Linked DNA regions of Homo sapiens: region 2 is linked to region 1. Evidence: promoter capture Hi-C in 16 types of primary human blood cells and fetal thymus (Javierre and others, 2016). All regions are on one chromosome and are shown on one strand. Each heading gives the region's core, a stretch centred on a gene start or on the middle of the fragment in contact. The rest is flanking DNA. Distances are from core to core; before and after follow the strand shown. Region 1 overlaps UMODL1 (uromodulin like 1). Region 2 holds the start of TFF1 (trefoil factor 1).

Region 1 (4,721 bases), core at 1,592-4,091:
GTGATGGGGACGGCCAGCAGGATTCAGCCAAGGGTAGATATGTGTGTGTCTGTGTTTTGTGGCCCTTTACGGAGCGTGCAGCCTCCCTTCTGAAAAAGCAACCAGGAGCAGGCAGAGAGGGGAAACTACAGGTAGGTTGGTGAAGGTTCGATCGCTTCACACACCCACTGGACTGGCTCCACGATACCAGCGGCAGTGCTATATGGGTGACCACAGGACCCAGGGGCCCACCACAAATCCCATCTCTGCCACCCACTCTCTTGACCACCCGGGCAAGGTCCTGAGCCTCTTGGTGCCTCGGTTTCATCATTTGTAAAAGAAACCATGGTAACATTTCCGGCCACGTGGAGGGTGTGAGATTTAAATGGGAAGATGCCCAAGAGGCCCCGCTATGGGGTCTGACGCCCTCAATTGCTGGTGGATCCTAACGATGGTCCTCGGCCGAGTGTCCCTGAAACCTGGTGCTCGTAGGGATTGTCACGTGTGGTGTGGATGCCACAGTGGACCCCCCACACCTTGCTGCTCATGCCCGCAGCCCCGACTTATGTATGACCTTTTGAGGCTGAAGATGCTTCTCTGATCTGCCCTGTGGACTTTTGTTTTTCCTGGGCCTGCACATAGTTCACCACAAATGAATGACAAGCATTATGGAGGGCAGTATGGTTAGTATAAACCTTCAGTGGGAAACACCAAGACTGGGACTTTTGTAAAGATTTTCAGATTTTTTTTTTTTTTGAGATGGAGTTTTGCTCTTGTTGCCCAGGTTGGAGTGCAGTGGTGCGATCTTGGCTCACCACAACCTCCACCTCCCAGGTTAAAGCGATTCTCCTGTCTCAGCCTCCTGAGTAGCTGGGATTACAGGCATGCGCCACCACACCCAGCTAGTTTTGTATTTTTAGTAGATACAGGGTTTCTCCATGTTGGTCAGGCTGGTCTCCAACTCCTGACCTCAGGTGATCCACCCGTCTCGGCCTCTCAAAGTGCTGGGATTACAGGCGTGAGCCACCGTGCCCGGCCAAATTTTGAGATTTTTCTAAAAAAAGAACATGCCTGTAATCCTAGCACTTTTGGAGGCCAAGGCAGGAGGATCGCTTAAGCTTAGGAGTTCCAGACCAGCCTGGGCAAGATAGAAAGACTCCATCTCTACAAAAAATACAAAAATAAGCCGGGTGTGGTGGCACACACCTGTGGTCCCAGCTACTTGGGAGGCTGAGGTGGAAGGATCCCTTGAGCTCGAGAGGTGGAGGTTGCAGTGAGCCGAGACTGCCCCACTACACTCCAGAGGGGAACCCTGCCTCAAAAATAAATAAATACTAATAAAAGAAGAAGAGAAGCAATCATGAGGCTTATCTGGCAGCGTGTGAGACTGCTGACTCCAAATGCTGTAAGGGAAGCATGCGGCTTCGGCTTCTGGGGAGGCCTCAGGAAACTTACAATCATGGCAGAAGACCAAGGGGAAGCAGGCACGTCTTCCATGGCTGGAGCAGGAGGAAGGGGTTGGGGCAGGTGCTACAGATGTTTAATCAACCAGATCTTATGAGAGCTCTATCGTGAGACAGCACCAAGAGGATGGTGCTAAATCATTTATGAAGGATCCGCCCCATGATCCAACCACCTCCCACCAGGCCCCACCTTTAATATGGGGATCACATTGAACATGAAATTTGGGTGGGGACACAGACCCACACCATATCAACTGCCCACCCTCTCAGCCAACAGGAGAACAAGGAAAGACGAGAGGCCAATTTTCCCTCGATGTTTTAATTTCAAGGAGGGGGACATCCAGCATGACCCAGCACCGACCCACCAGATGTCCTTAGAAAGCTAGTGGGATAGTGTTGGCCTCATCGCTGGGATTCGCATCTTAAATATTAAGTAAAAGGCACTGACATTTCCTCGTAACTCTATCTAGGGAGGTGACTGGTCTCTAGCACTGGTCCCGTCTATGCTGTAAGGGTCCTGAGACCCCAGAATACTGCGCATGTTAGTTACCAGGAGTCCTGGCAGGAGAGACGGGAAAGACAAAGCTAACACAAGCGTCCCCCTCACATGGGCAGAATCACTTCCACAAGCGGGTGGCGTTTTCTTTGAAGTTGCCCAGCAAGGGCAGCATGGAGGTTGCCTTTTGGAAACGTGTGCTGTAGTCTGGGCTTTGCTGGTGACCTGGGAGGATTGGCTTGAGTTCTCTGGGCCCCATTTCCTCATTTTAAGATTGGAGCCAGTGTCTACTACACTTTGCTGAGTTGTTTCAAAAATCTGTTATCTCAAGAAAATAAGGACCTGAGCACAGGAAAGATGGGCTGGGCTGGAGAAGCTGCCTGCCCGACGAAGAGGGGGTGGGCTGATGTTGACAATGTCTGTTGTTTCCCAACATCCCCGTGAGGTTGTGCTGTTATTAGCATCCTGTGTTATAGATGGGAATCCAGGGCAGAAAGGGATAGACGTCCCAGGTCACGTGGCTAGGAGGTCCAGGGCAAGAAGGGATAGGTGTCCCAGGTCACGTGGCTAGGAGGTCCAGGGCAGGAAGGGATGTGTCCCAGGTCACGTGGTTGGGAGGTCCAGGGCAGGAAGGGATAGGCCTCCCAGGTCACATGGCTGGGAGGTGGCCGAGCTGGGGCTGCATGGGATTTCCGTTTGGCTCTGGGGTCAGCTCTCTTAGCTACCAAGCTTAGAGCCTTTCTTACACTAGTGTTCACATGACTGATGGACCCTTAGAACAATGCCCCTTGCCTTTCCCCTTCATCAGAGACCCGGAGAATTTGTATTTTAGCAGCTGTGCAAGGGGATCCACAATTCTTAATTCTTGCAGTGGGGACACCAGGTGTCCCAGTTGAGAGGCAGCAACTGTTGTGGTTACAGGGAAGGAGCCTTCCCAGGACCCCTGAGCCTCCCCGGGAGGCAGGTGCTGCTGCTCAATTGTGGTCTGGGTCCTCAGCCACCTCCGGGGATCCCAAAGGGGCAGGGAACAACAGCGAAGTTTCAGTTCAACTTTACACTCTAATAGTGAAAAATAAGGAAGCTTCCTCAGTTTGGTAGCTTTTGGCCTCTGGTTTGGGGCCCATGGGGTTTGGGCCATGAAGACCCCCTCCTCACCAACCCCATTGCCTCCCATCCTGGGCAGGAGACATTGTCAATACCAGCCCGCCCCCTCTTCGTCAGGCAGGCAGCTTCCCCAGCCAAGCCCGTCTTCCCTGTGCTCAGGTCCTTATTTTCTTGAGATAACAGATTTTTGAAACAACTCAGCAAAGTATAGTAGACACTGGCTCCAATCTTAAAATGAGGAAATGGGGCCCAGAGAACTCAAGCCAATCCTCCCAGGTCACCAGCAAAGCCCAGACTACAGCACACGTTTCCAAAAGGCAACCTCCATGCTGCCCTTGCTGGGCAACTTCAGAGAAAACACCACCCGCCTGTGGATGTGATTCTGCCCATGTGAGGGGGATGCTTGTGTTAGCTTTGTCTTTCCCGTCTCTCCTGCCAGGACTCCTGGTAACTAACATACGCAGTATTCTGGGGTCTCAGGACCCTTACAGCATAGACAGGGCCAGTGCTAGAGGCCAGTCACCTCCCTAGATAGAGTTACGAGGAAATGTCAGTGCCTTTTACTTAATATTTAAGATGCGAATCCCAGCGATGAGGCCAACACTATCCCGCTAGCTTTCTAAGGAAATCTGGTGTATTGGTGCTGGGTCATGCTGGATGTCCCCTTCCTCGAAATTAAAACATCCGAGGGAAAACTGGCCTCTTGTCTTTCTTTGTTCTCCCGGGGCTCCTGTCTTTCGAAGTGAGAACTGTCTCACCAGTTCTAAAGTTCCTGCAGACATCTGCTCTTTGAAAACCATCAGCCAACCCACCCACCCCCACCAGGTCGACCCTTGGGCAGCCCCACTCAGAGATGTTCCCAGAGTCCTGGTGGGTTCTCCACGGATGGTGCAAAGGTGCAGGGGCCCCAGCTGTGCTCGTCTGGCTCAGGTATCTTCACCAGCCACCCCCACCAGTTGGCGTGTCAGGAGCATCGCTCACCTGAGGGCAGGCACAGCCCCATGGTCCCCGTTCCACTGGGCACTCTGGGAGTGGCTGCCTTTTCATTAGGGGCTTGATCTGTCCCTCTCCAGTAAACATAGACGCCATGTCCTCGGGTTGGTGTTTCCTCCACTACCCCTCCTCCTGGGGTTTTCTGTATTAACTTTACCTTTCCTGCGTGCAAGCTGACCCAGGTGACCTCTTCCTCCACACAGGTCGCCGTGAGTCAAGCTGCCTCCAGAACCTCAGAGCTTCCCTGGTGGGCTCCCCCGGGATCCCCAGTGTCTCTCTGCACCTCCACCCATCCCTCGGTTCTTAACTCTTCAAGCCTTAACGGAGGTCTGCTCTGACGGGTGGGCTCTGCCAGAGCCCGGGTGAGCCCAGAAAGGAAGACAGCAGCCACCGTCTGTCCCGAAGAGGCAGGCCGTCCTGTAGGTCCTAGAGGAGCCACAGCCCAGGGGCAGATGAAGGGGCTGCGGAAGACGGGGGCAGTCCTGGGGGTGCTGCGGCTACACCACCACCCGCGCGGCCCCCGCAGCCTAGACCTCCCAGGCCTGTGACCCTCCACACCAGCCCTCAGAACCCTCCTGGGCTTGCCCTCCCTTGGCGTCCGTCACCCTTTGGCAAATATAGAATATTTCACATTCTCAGAGAGACCCGACCGCGCTCTTGATGCTCTTTCGAAAATAGGTCAGTCT
Region 2 (4,721 bases), core at 1,272-3,771, 230 kb after region 1:
GGAGAATCACTTGAACCCAGGAGGCAGAGGTTGTAGTGAGCCAAGATCGCACCATTGCACTCCAGCCTGAGTGACAGAGCAAGACTCCATCTCAAAAAAAAAAAAAAAAGAGTCTAAGGATCTGATGGAGGAGAAAGGCAAGAACATGTGCGAGACAACGCAAGGCCATCGTCCCAGGGTGCCCAGGGTAACCACGGGGGTAGGGCACTCCCCGGAGAGGCCAATGACAAGCAGGTTGAACAAAGCAGGGGGGCTCCCTGCAGGAGGAGGTTCACCAGGTGAAGATGGAGCCGCATGGGCAAAGGCCATTCCAGAGACCCAGGTGTGTTCAGGAGGTGGAAACCCATTGCAGGTAAGGTGAGAGGACCGGGTGGGGTGGTCTAGGAGGAGCCGACAGAGGGTACAAGCTGTGAAACAGCTTGAAGCAGGGCAGTGAGGAAAGGGATCTAGAGGAGGAAGACACGTGGACAGATGGGGCTGGCTGGGGGCTGCCGCAGGATCTTATGCAAGAGGTTCTAACACCAGAGCTTCAGGCTCTGAGCTCCGCGGAATCAAAGGTCTCAGAAAGCAACCTATTAGGATCTGGTGGTTGACAGCCTGCAGCAGGGGGTGAAAGAGGAGCCCAGAGCACCCTCCGGTCCCTGTCCCTGCCTTGGGGCATAGGAGGGGAGGAACTCAGTCTGGCCACACTGGCTCAGGTGAGGGCGCCCCAGGGGAGGCCGAGAGGGGCTGTTCTCTTGTCTGCTTTGCTATCAGGGACTGCCTCGAGATGTCTTTGGAGAAAGTGTTCCTGGCTTGCTGGGAAGGATCCGTGTTCAGCTCCCGCTGCCCAGCAGCTTCCATGGGAACCTTGCCCTCCTGGGGTCTGGATCCATCGCGACGTGAAGGTGATCATCGCCCACCCCCGGGACACTGTGGGGGTCAAGAGAGGCCCCGTGGTGAGGGAGGATCATCATCCTGGGGGTCGGGGGGGTTTCCTCCTCAGGGAGGAAGATTTCCAGCCCCGGTGCTCTGCCTCCGGCAGACTCTGTCTTGCCCACCCGCTTTGTCTTTGTCGCATGATGGAAATAAATGGAAATGGTTTCCACACACGAATGCACTAAACTGTAATCACAATTTTCTAGATTTCAGTTGTAACAGGATCATGGACCTGAGTGACCCGCAAAGACGCTCTGAGCCTTGAGCCAGAGGGTGTGTGGGGTGGGGAGGGGAGTTTGCCACGGCCTCTGTGATCCCACAGCACAGGGGGCAGAGCTGGGGGCTGGGGTGGGGGCAAGGGCGCAGGCAGATGGGCCTGGGGGTGGCCAGCACGGGGACCCACCCAGTTCGTTCTGTACACCGAGGCCACTTCCTCTCTCGGGTTCCAAAGCTCCCCCGCTCCCTGCCATGGGCTTGGGGGTCTTCCCACTGCAGCCCAATGCTGGCTGCTCTTCTACGCTGCCCAAGCCCACCCCTCAGGCCCGGTACCCCACAGCAGAGATCAAGAGGTGGCTGGAGGGCAGTGGGGGCACGGACAGCACCACTGGGCGCTCCCTCTTCAGGCCTCTCTGGAAACCCTTGCTTTGGAAACGTAGAAAGCCCTTTCTCCTGCCCCCACCTTGAAACTGTACCTAATAACGGCAAATAAGTTATTCAGCTCCCCACAGCTGGCAAAGTGCAAGTCGCAGATGCTGCCACACAGCATTTCCTGACAGCCCTAGGGCAGACCGTTGATCCATTCTGCAGGTAAAGGAGTTGAGATGCAAACACTTCCCAAGGAAGCAAGAATGGCCTCCTCCTCCACTCCCTAGAAGGACCCAGGGCAACCGATCCACTTGACAACACCAGGGAATATGGGTTGCCAGCCACGCACTCATGAGAGAGGTGGCTTTGACTCCCAGAGCATGGATCCCAGGGGAGCCCAGGAACCTGTAGGAGAGGGTCTCCCAGTTGGCCACCACTGGGACGGGCATTCGGGCCTGTGGGAGAGGGTCTCCCAGGTGGCCATCACTGGGACCGGCATTTGGGCCTATCTGGATGGGCCTTGGGAGGGTCTGCCCCTGGGGGAGATGTTGGCATGAACAGTCAAAAGCACTATTCTGAGACCCCACGCCAACACTTCCTCTTTGAAACATGACACTTGGGAGGATTGTATAGTCTTCCTAACACAGGAAAACAGCCCCGACTGAAGGCAGCCCCCTCCTCGTCGCACTTCTCGAAGGTCTCCGGGGGCCCTGCCACCCTGAGTTACTCTCCACCTGCTTTTGCCGATCCTGTAAATTGGATATACTTTTAAGGGCCTAGAACAGCACCTGGCACAAAACAGGTGCTCAAAAATATGTATGTAAAACAGTGGCTCCTGGCGGAGGCTGCCAGAGCTGGCTGTGGCCCCACAGAGCAGGAAGAAGCACGCCTTACCTGTCTGGGCCTCGGCCAGGGTGCCGAGGGCCAGCATGGACACCAGGACCAGGGCGCAGATCACCTTGTTCTCCATGGTGGCCATTGCCTCCTCTCTGCTCCAAAGGCGACCCCGAGTCAGGGATGAGAGGCCGCCCGAGCCCCGGATTTTATAGGGCAGGCTCTGTTTGCTTAAAGAGCGTTAGATAACATTTGCCTAAGGAGGCCCGGGGATCCTCTGAGACAATAATCTCCACTGATTTTTATCAAAGGTGTTTCCTAGACATGGTCAAGCTACATGGAAGGATTTGCTGATAGACAGAGACGACATGTGGTGAGGTCATCTTGGCTGAGGGATCTGAGATTCAGAAAGTCCCTCTTTCCCATGGGAGTCTCCTCCAACCTGACCTTAATCCAGGTCCTACTCATATCTGAGAGGCCCTCCCGCCAGGGTAAATACTGTACTCACTGCAGAAGTGATTCATAGTGAGAGATGGCCGGAAAAAGGCTTGGCCGTGACAACAGTGGCTCACGGGGTGGCCACCGTGACCTTGCAGGGGGAAGGGAAGGAGCTCATGAAGCCCATTCCGTCTAGGCCTAAGCTAATTCTTTTACAGTGGAATTGTTTTAATAATGAAATTGTAGGCCTGGCGCAGTGGCTCACGCCTGTAATCCCAACACTTTGGGAGGCCAAAGCAGGCGGATCACTTAAAGTCAGGAGTTTGAGACTAGCCTGGCCAACATGGCGAAACCCCGTCTCTACAAAAAAAAAAAATACAAAAATTAGCCAGGCATGGTGGCGGGTGCCTGTAATCCTAGCTACTCTGGAGGTTAAGTCAGGAGAATCACTTGAACCTGGGAGGCGGAGGTTGCAGTGAGTCGAGATCACCCTACTGCACTCCAGCCTGAGCGACAGATTAAGTCTCCTTCTGGGAGGGGCTGGGGGCAGGAGGGAGAAAAAAATAGTATATACGAGCTGCCATCAAAAACTGACAAAGTGAACGTGGTTCACTCCCCTGTGTCTATGGGGCTCCCTCCCTCCCCCTCCCACACCTTCCCAGTTGGTCCCCTGGACTCCTGTATTTTAGAGGACAGCCTCCTGCTCTCCTGTACCATGCCTCACTCCCCTCCCCTGCTCGGAGCTTTCTCTTTCATAGCTCTTATTACCTCCTGGTGGATAAAACAAGTGACTGACACATTATGTTGGTTATTTATTCATTGCACTCCTCCCTGCAGCAGACGGGAGGGCGCATGGGAGCAGAAGTCCTCATCTCCTAGTGCCTTGAGGTGGCCCCAGACCCTAGAACAGTGGCTTTGATTGGCATTCGAGAAACAGCTGTTGAAGAGCTGCATGAAGAAATGGACAACAGGAGAAATCTTTTCTTCTTCAGTGAGAAATTAGGCCCTGAGGAAAATGCATGCTAGCCTAACAAAGGTACTATCTTTTCTTGGGTGACCTAGTCAGTACATTTCTGCAGCCCCTCTGGGAGGGGAGCCTGGGCCAGAATGGGGGCGGCCATGTTCCTCTTCGCTCCATCCCAGGACCCAGCCCCTCCTCCAGGGCTGCCACTCCTGCACCGGGGTCTCCACTCCTGGGCCAGGGTCTCCAGGAGGGGCCTGACCGCAGGACCCAGGGAGGGGCCGAGGCCTGGTGTCCTCTGTGGTCAGCTTAAGTTTATTGAAAACAGGACGGGGGCACCAGGCCCAGGGTGGTGCTCATAGTGACGGTGGTTTTCGCTGCTCTAATTTCTCGGATCAAAATGGGGGCTCTTGGAAATGGGATGTAAATTGCACAATCATTTGGAGAAAAGGTGGGCAGTGTTCGGTGAGGTTTAAGCCATACAGATTTTACAGCTCAGCAAATTCTTCTGTTTCCAGGCCTGGTCTCTTAATCCCAGAAACATGTTCATACTTGGGCAGAAGAAAACACAGGCAAAGATATTCTTTTTAGCATTGTTTGTAACAGCTGGAAACAGGGAAAGAAGGAAGGAAGGAAAGGAGGGAAAGAAAAGCAAAATAAATATTCATTAACCAGGGAAAGGGAAAATGAACTTAAAATACAATGCAGTCGTCCCTTAGTACCCCTGGGGGACTGGTTTCAGGACCCCCCACCCAGGGATGCCAAAATCCACAAATGCTCAAGTCCCTGGTATAAAATGACATAGTGCGCAGAAACCACGTGCATCCTCTCCTACACTTTAACCATCTCTAGGTTAGTTATAATACCTGATGCAATACCTACACCTCATTTCATTCTGCAGATTCTACATAGTACTTGACTTGCGGCACACCCAAGTTTTGATCTTTAAGATGTTGTAAATAAGATTTTAAAATACTTTTTTTTT

The links. Contacts are between HindIII fragments. The CHiCAGO score rates a contact against its expected background, and 5 or more counts as called.
Region 2: a contact is called between the fragment with the promoter of TFF1 here and a fragment that was not itself captured in region 1, in 1 of 17 cell types (M2 macrophages). The highest score is 6.8, in M2 macrophages.

What each region holds. Positions count from the first base shown.
Region 1 is chr21:42,137,858-42,142,578 of GRCh38, forward strand. UMODL1 (uromodulin like 1) reads left to right here. Exons shown (of 23, transcript NM_001004416.3): 23 at 4,239-4,721. Among named protein-coding and RNA genes, the nearest start is that of UMODL1-AS1, 32 kb to the left of the region's middle. The HindIII fragment of the contact is 352 bases long and covers 2,666-3,017 here.
Region 2 is chr21:42,364,014-42,368,734 of GRCh38, forward strand. TFF1 (trefoil factor 1) reads right to left here and starts at 2,522. Exons shown (of 3, transcript NM_003225.3): 1 at 2,398-2,522. The coding sequence starts at 2,482. LOC105372815 (a long non-coding RNA gene) reads left to right here. Exons shown (of 3, transcript XR_937755.3): 3 at 1-1,099. RefSeq lists a silencer at 2,844-2,943 and an enhancer at 3,570-4,721. The HindIII fragment of the contact is 25,271 bases long and covers 1-4,721 here.